3 separate regions of the Homo sapiens genome follow, and all the other regions are linked to region 2. Evidence: promoter capture Hi-C in 16 types of primary human blood cells and fetal thymus (Javierre and others, 2016). All regions are on one chromosome and are shown on one strand. The core of a region is centred on a gene start or on the middle of the fragment in contact, and the rest is flanking DNA. Distances in the headings are between cores, read along the strand shown.

What was found. Contacts are between HindIII fragments. The CHiCAGO score rates a contact against its expected background, and 5 or more counts as called.
Region 1: a contact is called between a fragment that was not itself captured here and the fragment with the promoter of MBNL3 in region 2, in 2 of 17 cell types (total CD8 T cells and naive CD8 T cells). The highest score is 5.8, in total CD8 T cells.
Region 3: a contact is called between a fragment that was not itself captured here and the fragment with the promoter of MBNL3 in region 2, in 1 of 17 cell types (naive CD8 T cells). The highest score is 5.5, in naive CD8 T cells.

The regions. Positions count from the first base shown.
Region 1 is chrX:123,727,724-123,730,423 of GRCh38, reverse strand. The region is part of intron 1 of THOC2 (THO complex subunit 2); the gene reads left to right. Among named protein-coding and RNA genes, the nearest start is that of THOC2, 4.0 kb to the left of the region's middle. The HindIII fragment of the contact is 1,094 bases long and covers 802-1,895 here.
Region 2 is chrX:132,487,705-132,490,404 of GRCh38, reverse strand. MBNL3 (muscleblind like splicing regulator 3) reads left to right here and starts at 1,367. Exons shown (of 9, transcript NM_001386889.1): 1 at 1,367-1,554. RefSeq lists a silencer at 519-1,088. The HindIII fragment of the contact is 7,236 bases long and covers 1-2,052 here.
Region 3 is chrX:124,398,673-124,401,372 of GRCh38, reverse strand. The region is part of intron 30 of TENM1 (teneurin transmembrane protein 1); the gene reads left to right. Among named protein-coding and RNA genes, the nearest start is that of SH2D1A, 53 kb to the right of the region's middle. The HindIII fragment of the contact is 3,150 bases long and covers 1-2,700 here.

The DNA.
Region 1 (2,700 bases), core at 99-2,598, 8.8 Mb after region 2:
GGTGGATCACCTGAGGTCAGGAGTTCCAGACAAGCCTGACCAACATGGAGAAACCCCATCTCTACTAAAAGTACAAAATTTGCCGAGCGTGGTGGCACATGCCTGTAATCCCAGCTACTCAGGAGGCTGAGGCGGGAGAATCGCTTGAATCTGGGAGGCGGAAGTTGCGGTGAGCGGAGATCGCGCTGTTGCACTCCAGCATGGGTAACAAGAGCGAAACTCTTTAAAAAAAAAAAAAAAACAAAAACCCAAACAAAAACAAACCAAAAACAACAGCAAAAAAACCTGTTATTAGAACTTACGTGTATGTAGTTATTGCATGACTTGTGGAATGTGGATTGAATTATAGTAGATCCAAATCAGTATAGTCAGTTTTATGATTGCATTCTGTTACAGGAAGAGAATTTAAAATTGTGTAACATAATAAGCTATTTTAAATAGTTAAACACATCACCATCCAGTACTTAGTTTCAGTTTATTTGACCTGTTTTCCCTCTATGAAACTTTGTTGCATATAGCATGTCTTTGGAGTTTTTGTGTCTTCCTAAAGATAGGTGTTAGCATTTTCATATTACTAGGCAGAATACGTGGTGGTGCAAATATATTACAAAAAACCTTTTTCCTTTGTCTGAAAACAGCTTCTGAAATATAAAACAGCAACTGGAAATGTTAAAAATGAAGGTAGTGTGCCACCACATTATTAGTGAAGCTATAGATTTGGCGTTTAGAATATGACCAATATTTAAAATTATACCTTGGGTGAATTTTTCCTTTTTAACAAGATAAATTAGCAGATAAGCTTTAACTTGACTGAAAATTATCTTTTTAAAAATAATGTGATATATTTCATGAGGTTGTTAATTCATTTCTTGTCTGTCACTTCTTACCAGCATAAATCTTTTCTGGGGGTGGTAGTCAGCTAGTGTTGAAAGCAACATAAGAGATGTATGGGGCATTTTATAACTTTCAGATAGGGCAAATTCTTAACTGTACGCCATGAAAAACAACTGTCTATTAAATGGAAGGTCTTGACTTTGAAGAATGTTTTATTAGGTAATTAGAGAGAAAAGTAAAACTGTATTTTGCCTATCTGAATGGTCCATCCATCACATATCTAGATATCCCATTATGTTTCCAGAGATACCAATTATGTTTTTAATGCTAAATTATAGAACTCTTAAAGAGTGACCTTTAAAGTGATCTTAAAGAGGGATCAGAAGGGCAAAGGAGGACTACCAAAATGTAATTGTAATTTCCAATAATACTTATATCTAAATGCAAACTCTTCCAAATTCTGAAAGATATGTATTTAATCACTTAATTTTGGAATTAGTTTTAGTTTCTTGATTATTTTATATTGACGTAGAACTTGCCATGATGAAGCTAATAAACTTGCATGTACTGGTAGATCCAGTGTAGAATTCTGTTTTTGGTAGAAATCATTAACACAGTGAACTCAGCATTTCTTTGTTACAGGCAACCTTAATGGAGAATTGATATTCGAAGCTCTTAATCTGAAGATGCTAGCCTCATGTTAATACTTAGTCTAATTTTGAAATACTTACGTTTGTTGAATATCATCTGTTTGTTTGAATAGCTTATTTAGGTATCAATTAGAAAGTTTTGTTAGGTCTTACCTTATTAATGGTAGTTACAATAAAGTTTTAAAATTTAATTGCCAAATGTTTTGATTGTTGTTCTTTTTCTTCTTCTGCTACTACATGATTTTAGACATTCTAGAACTTATTTAAGTATATTTGGTTGTTCAGAACATGCCATCTGATCTGAATTTCTTGGAGGATTCCAGGTAAAGGGATATAATCATTCTAAGAAATTTTAGTCTTGGTGGTTGAGTCTTTTTTCCTCGCAAAGTTGCTCCAAATTCAGCCAAAGCTTTATCTGAAACCTTTTCTTGATGTCTCAGTTTTCATTTAGCATTTAATTTCCCATTTCGACCTGTATTCATAAGCTAAGTATAAGTCTTAGTCTGTTTTCCTGGGAAGAGAAACATTCTTCACAAAATGTTGAAGCAATGTCAGGAGGTTGTATAGGCTACTACTTTGTTTGTTAAAAAAAATTATTCTGTAATGCTCTAACGTTTAGGTAGGGTGAGTGCTGTCAATATACTTGTGCTTTTTTCCTACTGTAAGTGCGGCAACTCCTGTTGTCTTTTTTTTTTTTAACATTTCCTGTTTCCTTTTCTTTTAAATGCATGTTTCTACAAGATAAAACTGTGTTGTCCCAGTATTCATTTTTGTGGGTTATGTTTCTGTTCTACAAATGATAATAGAGGTAGCACTTTATTTAACTACATTTAACCTTTTTGTTGTCTTGTTTTAAAGAATTAAGTGAAGCGTAAATGAACATCAGCCTTCTATATATGAAAGCCACATTTGAGATGTGAGCATAATCAAGTAGTTTAAGCTTGTGACTCTGTTTCCTTTTTACTGGAAAATGGGAACAAGTAAGATGAAAAGCCGTATACTCATGTTAAGAAGTATTCACAAAATACCTTTTAAGTCCTTGAAGGAACTTCAGACATTTTATTCAGTTTTCCATACATCTTTTGACAGAAAGTAGATTCTGTCCTCATTCTCAGGGACCTGAGACAGCATCTCCATAATAGCACTAAACTATTTTAAAAGTAGAAAAAATGAATGCCTGGCGTGGTGGCATGTAAGGTGGTGTGCACTGTGGCAC
Region 2 (2,700 bases), core at 118-2,617:
TGTATTTATTTAGCCTGTAGCGAGTGGACTTATTCATCGACTAAGATCAATTTTGAAAGGACCCATTTCGCCTCACCTGTCTGGGAAGTGTCTATGAGCGTCCCGCTGTGAACCACACTGCCTTTCTCACTGGCACTTCAGTTCCTGAAGAGCCAGAAACTTTGCACCCCTACCCCAACCCCGCCTCTGGGGATGTGTGCCTGCTTCGTTTGTTTTCGCTTTTGTAAAATCTGAGCGTTATGATTTGTCCCCCTTTCCCTTCCTAATGAAATGACAAAGGGTCTGTGCAGCGGGGGCTGGGCTGCTGGGTTTGGGGGCGAGGCGCCACACCCCCTGAGAATAAAGCCCGCGCTGCGCTCTCGGAGAACCAGGCACGAGTGAGCGAACCACACAAAGAATATATTTCGCGACGAAACAGCGCCCTACAGGAAGAAAGTGCCCGCACTCCGAGCGTGAGCCGCAGCGCGACTTTTTGGCGCTCTTTGGGAGCAGTGAGAGAGAGGCGGAGGCCAGAGAGTCCGGGGTGGGCGCGGGAGCCGGGGCGGCCCTTGGCCGCATTCCCGCCCGTCCCGCAGCGGCGCGCGGAGCCAGGTGAGGTTGGCGGCGGCGCCGCGCTACCTGGCCGGGCGGGGCGGGGCCGGGCGGCCGCGTGCGCCGCTTCCGAGTCCGGCGCTCCGGATGCCCGCCCGCGCTCCGCTGGCCCGCGGAGTTTCGCGGGAGTTTCCGTTTTGGCGCCTAAAGCCCCTCGCTGGCGCCGTTTCCCTCCGCGTGCCGCGTCTGTCCGGCGCGGGACGCACGGAGGCGCGGCCCCAGCCCGGGCTGCCTGGGGTCGGCGGGGCTGCGCGAGGGGACGTCTGGCGTCCGGCGGAGGGCACTGGCCCGGGAGGAGGGCACGCCTTTGGCAAAGGCCGGGCGGGGTTGGGACCGGGGTTGCTATGGTAGCTGCGAGCCCGGGCGGGAGCCCCACGCCCGGCCTCCGCGAGGGAGCTGGGGCGCTCCGAGGTGTGCTCCGAGTGGACTGAACCAAGAGCCTGGGAGGAGCGGGTAGGGCCGGCCCGTGGCCTTGTCCCCTCCTCCCACAGCCCGCCGGCCGGCCCCGGGAAGGGGCCTCGAGGAGCCCAGAAAAGAAAGTATTCTGGCCCCTGGAACCGAAAGGAGTCTTGCAAAAAGCACGAAGGGGTCAAGGGGGCCGAAGGGAGAGGGGGAACCGTCGCCTCCGTCCGAGAGTCAGCGTGCGCGTGTCTGTAGACTTGACATTTTATACCCCAGAGCGGCCGACTTGGAGCCGGGTTGCAAGTCCCAGCCCTGAAGTTCTGGAGGTGGGGCGGGCTTTAATTTGCTTATATCTAATGATTTCAGGAACCTCGCTTTAAAATGGCGGCATTCAGTATGCACCCCTGCTAAAGGCTCTCCCGGCACCGGGGCCACCTCGCGCAGCGCTGCTTTTGCTTCTGCCGCTAACAGATGGCATGTGCCGCTGTCGCTGCCGCTGCCCCTGCTGCTGCCGCTGAGAGCAGGGCCCCTTAGCCTCTGGGTTTGCGCTAGCAGCGTAAGGTAAGGCTGGAGATGAATTGGGATTTGTAAGAGAGGCTGCCTTCCTCGGACGCCGAGGAAATAATGCCTTTTAAACTTCATTTTACAAAATAGCAAATAGGAGGAAAAGTCATCCTGCAACTTTGTTGCGATTTTAGAGCTTTGATCATTTTCCTCCTCCTTTCCTCCTCCTCCTTTTTCTTCTTCCTTCTCTTCCTCCTCTTCTCTTCCTCCTCCCCTTCCTTCCTTCTTTCTTTTTTTCTACTTTCTTCTTTTTAATTTAAAGGAACTTCTTGCATGGCATATAATCAGCAAATGCTTTTTAACAACGAATTTCCCCATTTTCACGCGATATCGTGAGCAGTGCCACAGCTTCCTTGCAGAACCTTGTCTCTTCCTGCCCTGAGTCAACACGTTTGGGCAGCTCGCTTTTACTACTGGGGTTTGAAGGGCATGAGAGTAGATTTTAGGAGACTATTAAAAAGGGAACTTTAGTTTTTAACACTCACACAATAAGCTTTTATGGTAAGAAAACGAAATTAAACCCAGACGAGTAATGAAAGTTGACATTTAAGTGATTCTTTGTTGTGGTTTCATAATTAGGGTAATAGACCTACTGTGTGTTTTTCTGAGCACTCTTAGATAGCTAGCTAGCTAGCTAGCTAGCTAGATGATAGATAAAACAGATAAATTAATTGTGGCTCTAATTAAAGTAATATGTTTTAAAGGAGTTATTTTCTCCTAGATGTTCTTACATCGTTTGTAAATTGAGCTGGGATCCCCACAGCCTCTCCGTATTTGTGGGTAGACTTCATGGGAAAGAATCAATTAAAACAAAACTTGCAAGATTTAATTTTGAAGTGATTGGTACTTTTTTTATTAAGCGGACTCCCTGCTTTAGTGAATAAACGTTTGGGTGATTACTGATATAATGTTTGGAAAACAGATTGTTGGTATGTGGGAATGACTAAACATCCATGCTTGATACAATTTATCTGAATTTTGTTTTGTTTTGTTTCCCCCTCCAGTGAAAGGTAAATAGACAATGAGGCTTATCAGACACCTTGGATTTTTCCTGATTATATTTCCATCTTCTCCTTGGCCCATGAAAATCTAATCCTGAATGTTTAACTACTTTTTAAAATAATTTTTAACTTTTTTCTAATG
Region 3 (2,700 bases), core at 168-2,667, 8.1 Mb after region 2:
TGGGGCTCCCTTTTGAAAACCCACACAAAAGTGTGGTTGTAATTTGCAAGTGTGCAGGCCATAAAGCACTAATTGTTCAAGGACAAAATGACAGGTTCATTTAAAGGCCCATTTGGTAAGATGATAGACGTCAAATGTTCCCAAAAGCTGCCGATCACACCTCCCCCAGACCTTTTAGCTGGAAAGAAAAAAAAATCAGAAAAGGATAGACCTATCTTTGGAGAATAATCAGTGATTTTTTTTCATGCAACGTCAGGATCCTTTTTAAGGTGAGGGAGGCAAACTTTTGGGAAACATGATACCCTGCTCAGCCTGAGCAGGCAAGGGATTTGTTACCTCTGAGCCATCCTTCACCAGCTCCATTAAGTGAAATAAGTCACATTAACATCCTGAAATTTCATTTATTTAAAAAATCCATTTCCCTCCAACCTGAGTTGTGTTTGACTCATCTTCCTTCCTTGCAAGGCACTTTTGCATCTAGTCCATGTATCTGCTTATCTGCTGCATCAATCTGTCCCCATAAATACATTTCCCTGGACAATAGAGAAATTAGAGTGCAGATAACAATAGAGGCAATTGTAAAAAGAATTGGGCATTTACCAAAAGCATACTGGTTTAGGAACTACATCCAGTTTGTACCTTGCTATGTCCATGGATAACAATGCTGTCATATGAGATGTATCCCAGCTTTGGATCCCAGAGCTGTTTATAAGATTTTGTAGACTGAGTTGTAAGGTTATAGCAAAATCCCTGAACTGCAGCCTCCTTTATTAAAAGAAAAACAATGGAGGGGGCTTAGCACTTTATGACCAAAATTATAAAATCAGGTAGGATTATTATGTGTTTACAAATGAAATGAAGCAAGGACTTATCTAAAACTCTCCCAATTTACTTTTTTCCTCTACTCAAACATAACTGAGAATAGGGTAGGTTGGTTTTTAAATGAAACGTGAGTGTTCAGATGTGAGCTGAGAAGGAGAAACAAGCTCGGTTGAACACAGGGTCTCAGGCTGACAAATGATGGGGAATTGGTGGGGGCAGCCAAGAGGGCTCTGGCCTTTCCCTCTATTCTGAGAAATTGCCTTGGTCCTCAGCTACAGGGTGCTCAGAGTTGGATTTTCATTCACTTGACACTATTTTAACTTCCTTCTCCTCAGGTTTGGTGGAAGCATTTATTTTGTGAAAATTTAGATAAGGAGCCTGACTGGAGATATATTAATCAGATTAATCTATTTAAAAATATATCTGCAGTTTTCAGTCAAGTAACAGTGCTTTTCCCCCTAAGGAGCCCCCTGGAGACAGGAGATTTCCTATATCAAGGCTACTGGGCAGTATTGATTTTTGGGGTCCAGGAATTCTTGGGGCTTCCAAATCATAGAACCTGCTATATTTGGTTGTGTTTTTGTTTTTTTGTTTTTTGTCTCCCAGAGTGGAATGCAGTGGCACGATCTTGGCTCACTGCAGCCTCTAACTCCCGGGCTCAAGCGAATCTCCCACCTCAGTCTCCTGAGTAGCTGGGACTACAGGCGCATGCCACCGTGCTCGGCTAATTTTTGTTTTTGTTTCTTTGTAAAGACAGGGTCTTGCCATGTTGCCCAGGCTGGTCTTGAACTCCTGGACTCAAGCCATCCGCCCACCTCAGCCTCCTAAAGTGCTGGGACTTCAGGCACGAGTCACCGTGCCTAGCCTATTTTTGTTAATCTTGGATCAACCTCACTAAGATAACTAGAAAGAAAGAATTATTTCATATACCATTTCACCTGTATATGAGCATTAATGATTTGGTATAAAAAAATTTTAAATATCTGTTGTATGGTTACACAGATGAATTGGTCAACAGCAAAGTACTTAAGCAAGGGCAAATTAGCATAGTGCAAAAAATGTCCAAGGTAAATAATATAGCCAAAGTTGGGTGAGAAAAATGAGTATGATTTTGAGGAAGAACTGGTATGCCCATAATTTTGCACTTTTCTCATCTATAAAAAGAGGGACATGGATGGTGCAATATATTATTAGTGGTAGTATTAACCATAACAGCAGCAATTAGCATTCCTTGAAGCCTTACCATGTATACTGCCACATATTAACTCATTTACTATTTATAACACCTTACCAGATGGGTTTATCATTATCATTCCCATTTTACAGATGAAGAAACTGAGGCACAGAGAGGTCACACAGCTAGTAAGCAGTGATCACAGGATTTGAATTCAGGCAGTCTGGCTCAAAAGCCCATTTCCTAAGATCCCCTCTGTTGATAAGGTTCTATATGCTGGCAAAGTAAAGGGAGTGTCTTGGGAGTAAAAAACATTATATTATTGAATCAAATTCTTCAAAAGAATTAGAAACAACTAGTTGTATGTGATTGTAAATTACAGTGGGTAGTCGGATAAGAGTGAACAGAAGGGTTCCTTCTAACTCAAGCAGTTTTGTGTCAAAGGTTATTATGATGTCATGTAAACTTTTCTAGAAATCTATCACTATGTAAACAAATGATTGAAAATCCTGCATGGGGGACAAAACAGTTGGTGGGGATGTTAAATTGACGTAAAGGGAAATGAGAAGTTTTGGGGGTGATGGAAATGCTATCACGATTGTGGTAGTGGTTACCTGATTCAATGACTGTCAAAACTCATTAAATTGTACGCTTAAAATTGGTGACTCCTACTGTGTGTAAACTATCCAAATAAAGTTGATTTT